Linked DNA regions of Homo sapiens: regions 1, 2 and 3 are each linked to region 4. Evidence: promoter capture Hi-C in 16 types of primary human blood cells and fetal thymus (Javierre and others, 2016). All regions are on one chromosome and are shown on one strand. The core of a region is centred on a gene start or on the middle of the fragment in contact, and the rest is flanking DNA. Distances in the headings are between cores, read along the strand shown.

Region 1 (2,866 bases), core at 202-2,701, 960 kb before region 4:
GATTCTATTTAACAGATTTCTCCTCTTCTTTTTTTTCTTAAGCGCCAAATACATGTTACCAAAAAAAGTGACACACTGGGTAGCATTTTAAACTCAAGTGTTTTGCCAACTAAAACTATACTCAAATTTCATAAGTATACAGGCTTAGCCCGTAAAACAGAAAGGCACAACTATTCATAGTTCTTTAAGTTCCTTTTGAAATTGGTGTGTATGCCCTGGAAGTTTTAAGAACAACCACTGAAAACCTATTCACCAATTCTGAATGGCTTGTAAAGTATCAGCCTCACTTTCATTCTTTTCAGAGCCCACAGTTATCTCCTCCCTGGATATACTTTATCTTGCAGATTATGCAAGGCAATGTAACTAACTTCAAAGTCCCTTTAGTTCCTTTTAAAGCACAAGAAAATCTCCCAAAACACTGAACATAAAATTAACCCTTGGGAAGTTTCAGATTCTGAGAACAGGAACCACCTCTTAACCATTCTCTCTGACTGCGATCATCTAGGTCCTTCATTCAAAATGCATTAATTGGAAATACCTAAAAGAAACGTGGGAGGGGGCCGGGGGGTCGGAAGAAAGTGGAGAACAGACATTTACATATATAAAAAAAGGGATCTGATATATGAATAACACTTTTGCCCAACGTCAACTTCTCGCCTCGACTCAAGGCCTGACACAACTTCTGTTGTCTTCTTGATCACCTTCCTTGAAGAGAGGGGCCAAAGCCGGCACGTTCTGCGGAGACTGTCTCTAGACCTAGGAAGGGGCACACCAGGGCAGCGGACGATTTGCTCCGCGTCTCTCAAAACTACTGCCAGCCCAATTAGTAAACCGAGAGGGCAGCCCTGAGATGCAGGATGGCCAGAGAGTTGAAATGAGTCTGGGAGTTAAGAGTGGGATGGGGCGGACGAACAGGCGTGGGGAGGGTAAACAACGCACCAGGAGCGGGAGTGAGAACAGGGTCGAGGTGGGGTCAGCGAAAGGCAAAAGGCGAAGAGAAGAAGGGGACGGGGCTCCGGGTGGGATGGGCGGCAGCAAAGGGGGAGGGGACGCGAGAAGGCTGGGGGAGGGGGAGAAGGGTCCGGGGCGGGGCGGAAGGGAGCAAAGAGGCGGGATGAAGACGGCCAGGCCGGGAGGGTCTTTACCTGCAGCTCCGCCCGCTCCACCTCCCACTGGGCTCTCTCCACCTCGAAGCGGGCCCACTCGTGCTGCAGGAAGTGCAGGATCCCCGGGAGACTGTACTGGGCTCGGGCCGCCCCCGCCGCAGCCGCCCCGTCGCCGGCCGCGGCAGCCTCCGCCAGAGGCCCGAGCCCCTTGGCACCGCCGGCGCCCGGGTGGTTGTTGCTGAAGAAGACGCCGGGACCCGCCTGCTCGTCCATGGCGGCCGCAGATACCCGGGGAGCTGCCCCGGCGCCCAGCAGCGGAGGCAACAGCGGCGGCAAGCAGCGCCTCCTCCTCCCTCCGCCGCTCCCGCCCACACCCCAGTCAGCAGGGAGCAGCCTCCTGGGCGCGGGGGCCGGCCGAGCCCGTGACGGGCCGGGAAATGGGTCAACTGCGGCGCGCTGGCGGCCCGGGGCTTGCCGGGAAATGTAGTCGCGGGGCGGGGCGCGGGCTAGCGCGGCCCGGGCGGCCTGTAGGGCTGTGCCTCAGCTTGGGCGTGGCCTCGGGCCCGCCCCGCCCCGGCTCGCCGCGTAGGGGGCCGGCTGGGCGGGGAGAGCGGGTTTCCTCTGGGGCCGGCTGGGCGCGGGCGGGCGGGTCTCCAGTCTTCCTCGCACGCGGAAGTTCGCGGGCGGCGCACCCTGTTGCATTCAAAAACACACACACACACACACACACACACACACGGAAGTTGTCACGCCAAGATACCTGCCCGAGCTGCACATCTTTTAAGGCTTCCTGGCCGTTCTGTGAAGGAACAGGCTCAAAGCGAGCTACCCGGTGCGGCCGCGGGACCGGGGTTCTCCCGCCAGCTGCCCTGCGTGCTCTCGCTTCGGCTTCGTGTTCGGAGTTTCTCTCACCCTAGACGCTCCTCCATTCTGCCAATCTGCGGGTCGCTGTCGCTCTTGCCTTTCTCTTTTGACTCGAGGGGCTCAAACCTGTTACCTGACCAGTTTTCATTTCTAAGGAACGCCGATCACCTTTCTAAGACAACGCCGCAGCTTTCTGCTGCTGCTTCCAAATTGTGGTTTGTTGACAGCCCATCTGAAAAACTGCTCCGTTGAAGTTTCTTTCCCTTTGCAGTCCTCCTGCAGTAAATCCTGTAAAAGTTTTAGCATCCAATAATAGATGTTCTGTTATTTCGGTCTCATTTTTCCTATCTTATTCCCGCTGATTTTTACTCTACTTAATTGAACAAATATTTTGATTATCGGTTTTCTCTTGCGCTGGGAATATTAAGATAAATGACATCGTTTCTGTCATCAAAGATTGGCGTATAATCAAATATCACAAAGGCTTAATTTAAAAGCTACACCACCTTGAAAAAGCAAGTTCCCTTTCTGCTCCCTAGCGCGGTCTTAGATATCCTGGCCCCTCTCCGTTTTCACTTGTCCTGTTCCCAGTTTCTTTCACGATTCACCTGCCAACTGGCAACAGCATCCGCCTACCAAAGGTACACCAAAGTCCTTTCAAGTTACTCTCTGTAAATATTTGCCTTCTCCGAAGTCTGACAATATGTCACTATAAATTCACACTACAACAGTGGCAAAAAGGAAGGCCCCTGAAAACAATTTAACAAATGCAAATGAAATTAAGCACTTATTTTGTCACCCTAACAAGTTATCTGAAATTCTTACGTTTTGTAGGACGTACTTGTGGGTTATCAGACTTGATGGCCATGAAAAAATGTAAAGATCTAGGCTGCTGA
Region 2 (2,955 bases), core at 422-2,921, 830 kb after region 4:
GGAGCCACAAATCACCCTAATAAAAGCAAATTAACAAAATTCTAAAGTTAAAAATATATTCAGGACTTATAGATTTAAAAAGAACTCTTTCCAACCACTCACTCTTTCCAACCACTCCTTCCCCCCCAACAAACTTTGGCGGTCTTTACCAAGCCCTAACTCCATCTCCGCTATCTTCTTTAACCTTCGTGTGCCTTTAGCATTTAACACTATGACCAGCTATTTAAGGTCTCTTCCAGACTTCAGAATCCAAATTTAGCACTAAGTTCATTATCTAGCCACAGTATATTTTAATGAACAGAAGATTCATAACATCTTACTTACTTTCCATCCAGTCCTCGTACTGCATCTTCTGCATCTCTAGGATCTTCGAATTCCACAAAGGCAAATCCTGGAGGATTTCTCGCAATCCATACAGTTCTTAAAGGACCATAATAACTGAAAGCCCTTTCTAACTCTCCTTTGCCAGCGCCAGTTCCCAGGTTACCAACATACACCTTGGTTTCTGTTTAAAAACGCAAATAGAAGAATGCACGTTACGCAAAATCTGGCCCAAGTTTCAATTACTTATTTGCCTTAAAACGGGCCATCCTCAAGATTGGGTAAAGCACATTTAATGCCCTCTATCCAAGACAAAACTTAGTCGTAAAACTGGTGAAAGTCCGCAAATCCCTGAGAAACTAGACTTTTGACAAAATTCTTAACGTTCTAAATAATGCGGGGTGACCCTCCCGAACACAAGCAGAAACGCGTGGTAGGATACACCGAGGCGTGGGGCGGAACCTGGCCCGGCCCCACCCATGAGTCCCGGCAGCCCCGGGCGCACCGGGAGCGCGCGGGCCCGCAGCGGCAGCGGCGTCGGCGGCGGGAGGGCCTCGGTAGGGGCCGGGCCAGGAGAGCAGGGCTGCGCCGGCTCTCGTCCTCCGCGGCAAACGTCCCAGGCACAGGCTCGCCCAAGACTCCAGCTCCCCGCCCCAGAGCCATAAACCGCGCTGGAAATAACTAAAAAAAACCCAGCCGCCAGTCGCAGATTACGTCCCCATTCCCATTCCGCAATTTAACCGATTGTTTGACGAGAACATGCAGCTCACAGCTGCCAATTTCGTTCTATCTCAAACACAACCACGATCTTACAGCTGCGGCCAGATCTGTCCGCTGAAGTGGCGGGAAAGCGCTGAGGAAATGCGCCACCACGGTCCTCAATGTGCGCAAAATGGCAGCCGCCGCCGAGGGCGGGGGGGGAGGGGGGCCGGCGGGCAGCTCCGAGAAAGGCAACGCGAAAACCGTCATCTCAACCCTGCTTTAGGCTGGATTGGGCCACAAAAATGCCCAAGAGTACGGAACTCGGCAGAGATGTACACCCGCCATCCCGTCTCCCTTCAGCACCCCGCCTCCGCTGCCTCCGGCTTCGTCTGGCGTGCTCCTAAGCCGCCATTACGCACGCGGAATAACCGTCTCCCAACCTCCGCGACAACCCTACGGCCTCGCAGTGCTCACTACACCCACACCAACGTCCCTCACCGGACTCCAGCTTCTTACCTCCTCCGTACCGCCCGTAACGCGACATGATGACAGACCCGCGTGCTCGGCTCTTTAGCAAGCAGCGCCCAGGGCTCGAGTGACGCAAAAGCTGACACACACCTTCACCCGCCAAGAGTCCCGGCGGCACTACGAGGAAGAGCCCGGGTTCGCGTTTATATATGCGGCCGCTGCGCTTTGCGCATGCGTCATCTCGTTGTTCTGCGCGGCACAAAGGAGCTGGGCGGAAACAGCCAAGAAACGACGCGGAAGGAACTGAAGAGACTAACACGCGGGTCATGGGCGGAGGGATACGTTTCTATGGGAACGCCACGATCTCTCCAGTAAACCTGAGGCCTTCCCCATGCTGTCCCGCCCCCTCCTCTCCCCGTTTTCTACACCCTCCTTGTCTTCTTTCCCGTCTCCCTACCCTCTGCCTCCTTTCGTTTTTCCCCAGGCTAGGGACCCTCAGCCTTAACAATCTTAGTACGGATGCATTAGACCGGCCTATGAAAGGCTGTACAATTTAACCGCTGATGTTGCAGCCGTCGCGCCCTTCTGCTGGGGGACCTGGCCTAGTCAGCTACTCTGATCTTTGGGGCTCATCAGAGGTAATCGAAGGTTTGGCCATGGTGAAAAGTCCATGAACCCCGCCATTCTGAGTAGTGGTTTTTACACCATAGACCTTGACGCACCCTGGGACTGGTGGTAAAGCCTCCTGTCCTACACGCCCCCTCCAACTTCTTTTGAACCAGTCACCAGTTTGCACCACCACGGTCTGAGTTCTTGGAGTCTGAAAGACAAAGGAATAGAGCTGTGGGGTCCCGCTCCCCCCTCCCCCCTTTATATTGAAATTGTGACAAAACCCTGAATGTTTAAAGCATTTTGGCCAGTGACAATTTGGAAATTATTTGCATCTGAAGCTCAAAGTAACTGATTTGCTTTTCCTAATGCTTTCTGCTTTGTAACACGTGTGATCCACCAATACTCCGATCCTGAGGACTGGGACTCCTAAGTCATCTTTGTGTATCTCCACTCAGTGGAAATAGCAGCCTTGCTGCTCAGCCACTCAACAGTACCAAATAAATGCAAAACTTCTTTACATTAGAATTGCTCTAGACACCAACTACAAATAGAGAAAAAGTTCTTTTTTGCTAGAAACATAGACATTACATCGTAAATTCTTGGAATACACAAAAGTTGGAAATGTACATAAAAAAAGACATTTAGGTATTTGCATTTTTATCTTTTTCGTCTTTTGCAACTTCATTTGGTGAGTATAGGTGTGGAATGGAGAGTACAGGGAAAGCAGGCCTAGTTGGTGAATAAAGCATGGATTCTTTCCAGGTCATGCTATGATTTTATGCATATTTTTTACGTTGATTAAGTTATGGAGAGAATTAATCTCTCTCAGGAAGATCTCTAAGAAGAAAATAG
Region 3 (2,700 bases), core at 10-2,509, 840 kb before region 4:
TGAGCTGGATTTAAACGAGGTTTGAGTTTTGCCACTAAATTTCCCATTCGTGTAATACTCTCAAGTTCCATAAGTGACCCATAAACCTTCCAAAACATAACATGTGTTTTCTTAAGAATCATGACCACATAATCTCTTCACGTTAATGCAACTGGGAAAAAAGAGCAATACCATACCTTGTTGGCAGCAACCAAGACTTTATCAAGAAATCGCAACCATTCAAAGATGAAAACTGGTCTTTTTGCTTCGGTGATTTGAGCCAAAGCTTCTTCATTTAGCAATAAACTGTGGGCTAACTCCATTACGGAAGTTTGAAATTCACACCTTAAATTTAACAGAGTAAAAAATACTTGTAAGTATTTTTTAATGTTAAAAGTCAAGCTTAATGGAATATACTCACTAAGAAAAGTAGGACTACTCATTTCATTTGGGGAAAAACTCAACTTCTTTGAGGCAAAACCTGAGAACATACTTTTAAATGACAAAAATACAAACAAAAACAGAAGAAAACTACTTGGTAAGGAAGAGTGACTCATGGAGTGAAAAGAAAATTAAAAGAAATTATTGCCAAAAAAGGCATTATTCCAGAAGAAATATGTCCAGCAACACATATGTCATTTACCCGTTCTATAAATGAAAAAACTGAAGCACTAAGATCAAACACCCCAGCCGGGCTTGACAACCATCCTCCTCTTTTTCTCGTCCAGGGTTCGGTACATAGCACCTTTACCCTCCCGCGCTGCACCTGGCCAGAGGGACTGAGGTCAAAACACCCAGCACAGACATCCCGAACTGCAGGTCTCCAAGACTCTTCCTACGCGGATGGGTGGGGCGGCCAGGCCCGGCGGCCGAAGCGTCAGTGACAACACCAGGCGGTCCGGAATGCACCCGAGAAGCCTCGCGCGCTCGGGGTCTGGCTTCACCTGGCTACTCCAAGAACCGCAAGCGGCGGACCCGGGGAAACACCAAGAGGCCGCCGCAAGCCTCCGTGGGGTTCCGCAGGCTGTCAATAGCACGAGGCGGCAGCTCGGAACTAAGCACGGAGCCAGAAAAGGGAAAATGTTCATTACGAACTCAAATGTCTTCCCCACCCGTCTGAAAATGTACGTCGGACAGGAGTCCGTGCGTGTCAACATGCATGCTTCGGCGACCTCACCTCGTAGTCTGGAAGGGAAGATCAGCTGAGCTCCGGGGGTAGAAGCAGCCACCAAGAGACCCGGATGCCCCACCTCCCGCACTCCTACCTGCAGGAAACAAGGGAAGAGCGCTTGCGCGGAGGGCTGGTCTTGCGCAAGCGCAGTCACCACGTCCTCCTATCCCCACCCGCCGCGAATTTCCAATAGAGTCTGCACTAGGAAACTGGTGGGAGCCGAGGTCCGGAAGTCCGACGCTGGTCGGTGGGCGCATGCGCAGCGCGCGCTCTACGGCGCTGAACCGGGGCGAGCAGAGAGCTGTCAGGTAAGAGAGCTGTCAGGTAAGGGTCTGGGGACAACCGGTAGAATGATAAAAGGCAGAGTGCGCTGGCCATGACTACCGTATCACACCGTCAGCCACTTTTCCATCCGTGGGTGGTTGCGTCTGTGGGACGCTTGCAGCCAGGAGGAACGCGTGAGGGAAGGGATCAGCGGTTCCTGAGCGTAGTATTGAGAGTGGGACGTTTCTTGTCACATTTATACTGTAGGTCCATTTCTCCACTTGTATATGTAATGGGACTCTCAATATGTCTGTTTCCCGACTACGCCCCCTAAAAAAACAAAAACAAACCTACTCCTACAGTCTTCCCACTCTCAAAAAACGTTAACTCCGTTCTTCCATGTATTCAGGCCAAAAACTTAGCGTTATCTTGACATCGTTCTTTACGTACTACCTACAACATCAGCAAATCCTGTAAGCTCTACCTTCAAGTGTACCCCAAATGCGACCACTTGCATTGCTATCACTCTGGTACGAGCCTCCATCATCTCTGCCAGGGTATCGCCTTGTGAAGTTTATGCTTATCTTTGATGGAAATGGATAATGCTAAAGTATATTTTACCAATAGAAAGAGAGCTTTAAAAGCAACCTGTAACCCCATTCAGATGTGCCTGGCACTTTAAAGTTAAGTAGGTCTCTTAAAAACAATGTAATCCTATTTGCAAGGCACTATGACCCGGATTCTTTGTGGTTTTGAAATAGTCATTTAGCCATACTGAACCTTAATTTCTCCAACAGGAAAAACTCTTCCTACCTTGTAGAGTTGTTAGTGGTGGTTAAATGTGATAAAAATGTGTGATATACTGGGTAAGTGTTAAACCATTATGTGTAAAAATGCTGTTATTACCAATGAAGAATCTGAGGTTTAGAGGAAGCGGGTGAATTACCATAAATGCTGTATATAATAGTGCACGTTTTTAACTTATAATAAAAATAGGTAAACTAAACTGTAATGTTTAAAGATGCACACGTGGATGACAAAACTATCGAGAAAATGAAGGAAATGATTGCCATAAAAAACAGAATAGTGACTATTCTTAGAACCAAAAGAGAGTTGCAACTGGATAGGGGACAAAGAGGGCTCCCAGGTGCCTGATAAGGTTCTACTTCCTGATAACTTTTGCTACATAACAAATTATCCCCAAATGTAGCAGCTTAAGATAACTGTAATCATTTGTTATCTCACAGTTTCTATGGGTCAGGAATTTGTTAGCAGCTTAGCTTAGT
Region 4 (2,827 bases), core at 187-2,686:
TGGATCACAATCCATATGGGTTTGTTACTCTCTTTAGTCTGGATTTCTTCTAAAATCATTACAGTAGTGTTTCAGTTTTCATCTTCTTCTAGACTGTCTTCTCTGAGAGTCCAAATATGTGTCTTAATAATGATAGGAGTATAATTTTTATAAAATGCAAAAAGTTCTAACAACGGTTGGTTAATTAATGTGTCTCTATTGCAATATATGAGAGTAGATTCTCTCTGTTTATTTATTTGTATGCCCAGGGGCTCTGTCTACTGAACAATTTCTTGAAAAGGGTCTGCTCCGAAAGGGAAAATCACTTTCCTTTGTATAGTCTGAAGACAGTAAGTCTGGAAAACTGCTAACCCCAATTTTTCCCAGCAGAATATTGTATAAAATCCACTTACCACCCAAGTCCAAAATGAAATTTTTTTCCAATTATTATATGTAATTAAGCATATCCAGTTATTTTAACTTTTTGTACACGTGTTAACAACATTTTGTCTGATGATGATGAATATTCACCTTTATTTTTAATTAGCGCCAGTGAAACTGACCTTAGCTTGTGAAGTTGATGTATATACTGTCAACAGTGTCCCTGAACATCATCTCCCAGGATGAAGAAAGAATGCAGAGGGAGGGGCAAAACCACTCTTCCTCTGAATCTGTCAAGTTCCACTTTGGATTGTATCCAAGGCTGTGCTTTATTTACAAAGGCCATGGAAAATCAGTGGAGGAATGTGACTTAAAAAATCTTCCACAATTTTTAAAGAAACGTCATTCTTTTCTTGAATCATCACCGAAATACTGCGGAAAACCACTGAGCAAGGTTAGTACATGCCTTTTTGAAAATGACTTTTTTCATGGAACAAAAACTTAATGTTTCTAATGAAATAGAAAGTTTCTAATAAGAATTCTATATCTTAATTAGGTATGTATACTTTTAATAAATTGATTCAACATTGAACTGCTAAGTAGCATAACATAAATATCGTTGTTAATTTTTCTTTCATACATATCTTCCTAAAATACCATTTTTAATTTGTTCAGTATAGGAGTATTAGGCCAACCATTTTATTGGATTTAAGTGATTAATAATTTATTGCACTAATCACTTAGTCTATGGAAATATTTAATAAGCTTATCCTAATGCTTTTTTCAGATAAAACATTTTTACCTTAGAAAGTCCAAGTTAGTTTCTTTTCAGAAATTTTTTTTGTAATTTTCCTGTGTTCTAGAGACTGCCTAATTTTTTTAAAACTACATCAGACATAGTATTATATTCCTCTTTTCCCCAAATTCTATTCCTAGCCTAACCTGAATATCATAAACACAAAGTAATTTTATACTCTGTGGATTAGAGGTTGTGGTAAACTGCAGAAAACCCCCCATGGGGCAAATGATCAGATTTGAGAATTCAGTTTCTCCTCTAACAGAAGCAGTGAAAGCTGAACCCTAAATAACTGAAGTGGGGGATACAAATGATGTAATATCACATTAGAAGGGCTATGATGTTCTTGTAAATGGTGCTATGAAGAGTCCCTTCAAGTGTTCTATCAAAGGCAGGGTCTGGGGGTCCAAGATGGGCTGGGTTAAGAGAAAAGGCTCTCAGACAAAGTTAAGTTTGATATTTGTCTCTAAAACTGACTATGTGGCCTGGGACAAGTTTCTTCACCTCTTGAAGCCTTGGTTTCCTCACCTGTATGTTATTTACTTCATTAGATTGTTGGGAAAATGGAATAAGATAATTCATATAAAGAACGAAGCTTGAAAACTGTGTAGAAGACTCAATAAATGTTCCTGCTGTACCTGTTGCTGCTGCCCTTTGCTCCTCCTCGTTTACAAATGATTCGGGGAACTCAGAGCTTCGGTTACACCTGGGGGACTTCTTCCTCTGCCCCTGCTCTTTGCCTGTGCGCTTCTCCCTCTCTAAATCCCTCTCTCTCAATGGTTAGGGTGTTCTTAATTTAAAAGTTTTTCCCCAGCTATTTGCAGTAAAATATTTCCTTAACCCTTTCCTTAAAATACTTTCTTAAAACCAGCCTGGAAATGAAGGTTGATTCTGCTCTTTGAAGCGGGGGTTGGGGATTTCATAGTGGTACTAATTATACCTGCAGCTCAGCCTTCAGTTTACAAATTAAGAAATTCAGCTTGTAAGTTTGATAAGATTTGGAAATAACAACAAGGAACTAGAAAATGAATAGTTAACTATATAGCATATTGGTAACTGTTAAAGGGTTAAAACTAACTTTGTCATTCAATTGCTTCCTGGAAATAAAACCACTCAAATAAAACCTAAAAAAAAAAAAAAATTGACACTCCCATCTCACATTACTATAATGAAGGACTATACATTTCCTCATGCTTTTCCCTCAAATGTACATACTACTTTCAAATAGTTATCTAATATAGAGGGTGTGCACCATGCCAGGTTCCCAAGATACAAAGATAAATGCTACCATCCTTGAAGATGTTCACAGCCTCACAAACACACAGTCACTGGCAAGCAGTAATTATATAGTGTACACCAGAGAGGTTTGCTGTAAGCTAGCAGGGAGGCATTTTGTATTCATTGAAACTCCTGGTCCTTCCATAAGTTTTGATGGGGCATGGATGAATACTTCTTATGGGGAAGGAGAGAGTGTGTAGCTTCTCAAGGGAAAGAGGTTGAAGTGGTTGAATTGGTTTTGGACGGGTGGCAAGCAACAGGATATTCCAGGCACAAGGAACAGGATAAAAAGGATACAGCTTGTGGAGAGACGATCAGTAGCTTAGCTAGTGCTGAAGTGTAGAATGATGTCTGGTGGAAGTAGCGGAGAAAAGCTGGAAAAGTAGGTTGGGG

What was found. The method cuts DNA at HindIII sites, captures the fragments that hold promoters and counts their contacts. A CHiCAGO score of 5 or more calls a contact.
Region 1: a contact is called between the fragment with the promoter of STRN here and a fragment that was not itself captured in region 4, in 2 of 17 cell types (fetal thymus and erythroblasts). The highest score is 6.2, in fetal thymus.
Region 2: the fragment with the promoter of SRSF7 here is called in contact with a fragment that was not itself captured in region 4 in 1 of 17 cell types (total CD8 T cells); the score reaches 5.2 in total CD8 T cells.
Region 3: a contact is called between the fragment with the promoter of HEATR5B here and a fragment that was not itself captured in region 4, in 1 of 17 cell types (activated CD4 T cells). The highest score is 5.2, in activated CD4 T cells.

What each region holds. Positions count from the first base shown.
Region 1 is chr2:36,965,085-36,967,950 of GRCh38, forward strand. It overlaps STRN (striatin), which reads right to left and starts at 1,452. Exons shown (of 18, transcript NM_003162.4): 1 at 1,146-1,452. The coding sequence starts at 1,379. RefSeq lists a silencer at 1,133-1,942. The HindIII fragment of the contact is 8,803 bases long and covers 1-2,866 here.
Region 2 is chr2:38,749,690-38,752,644 of GRCh38, forward strand. It overlaps SRSF7 (serine and arginine rich splicing factor 7), which reads right to left and starts at 1,672. Exons shown (of 8, transcript NM_001031684.3): 1 at 1,540-1,672; 2 at 325-505; 3 at 1-16. The coding sequence starts at 1,567. RefSeq lists silencers at 757-946, 1,157-1,256 and an enhancer at 2,117-2,176. The HindIII fragment of the contact is 14,475 bases long and covers 1-2,955 here.
Region 3 is chr2:37,083,113-37,085,812 of GRCh38, forward strand. It overlaps HEATR5B (HEAT repeat containing 5B), which reads right to left and starts at 1,260. Exons shown (of 36, transcript NM_019024.3): 1 at 1,157-1,260; 2 at 177-324. The coding sequence starts at 302. GPATCH11 (G-patch domain containing 11) reads left to right here and starts at 1,406. Exons shown (of 9, transcript NM_174931.4): 1 at 1,406-1,458. RefSeq lists enhancers at 768-867, 1,338-1,497. The HindIII fragment of the contact is 3,413 bases long and covers 380-2,700 here.
Region 4 is chr2:37,920,140-37,922,966 of GRCh38, forward strand. It overlaps a transcript of RMDN2 not described here. Among named protein-coding and RNA genes, the nearest start is that of RMDN2, 3.7 kb to the right of the region's middle. The HindIII fragment of the contact is 626 bases long and covers 1,124-1,749 here.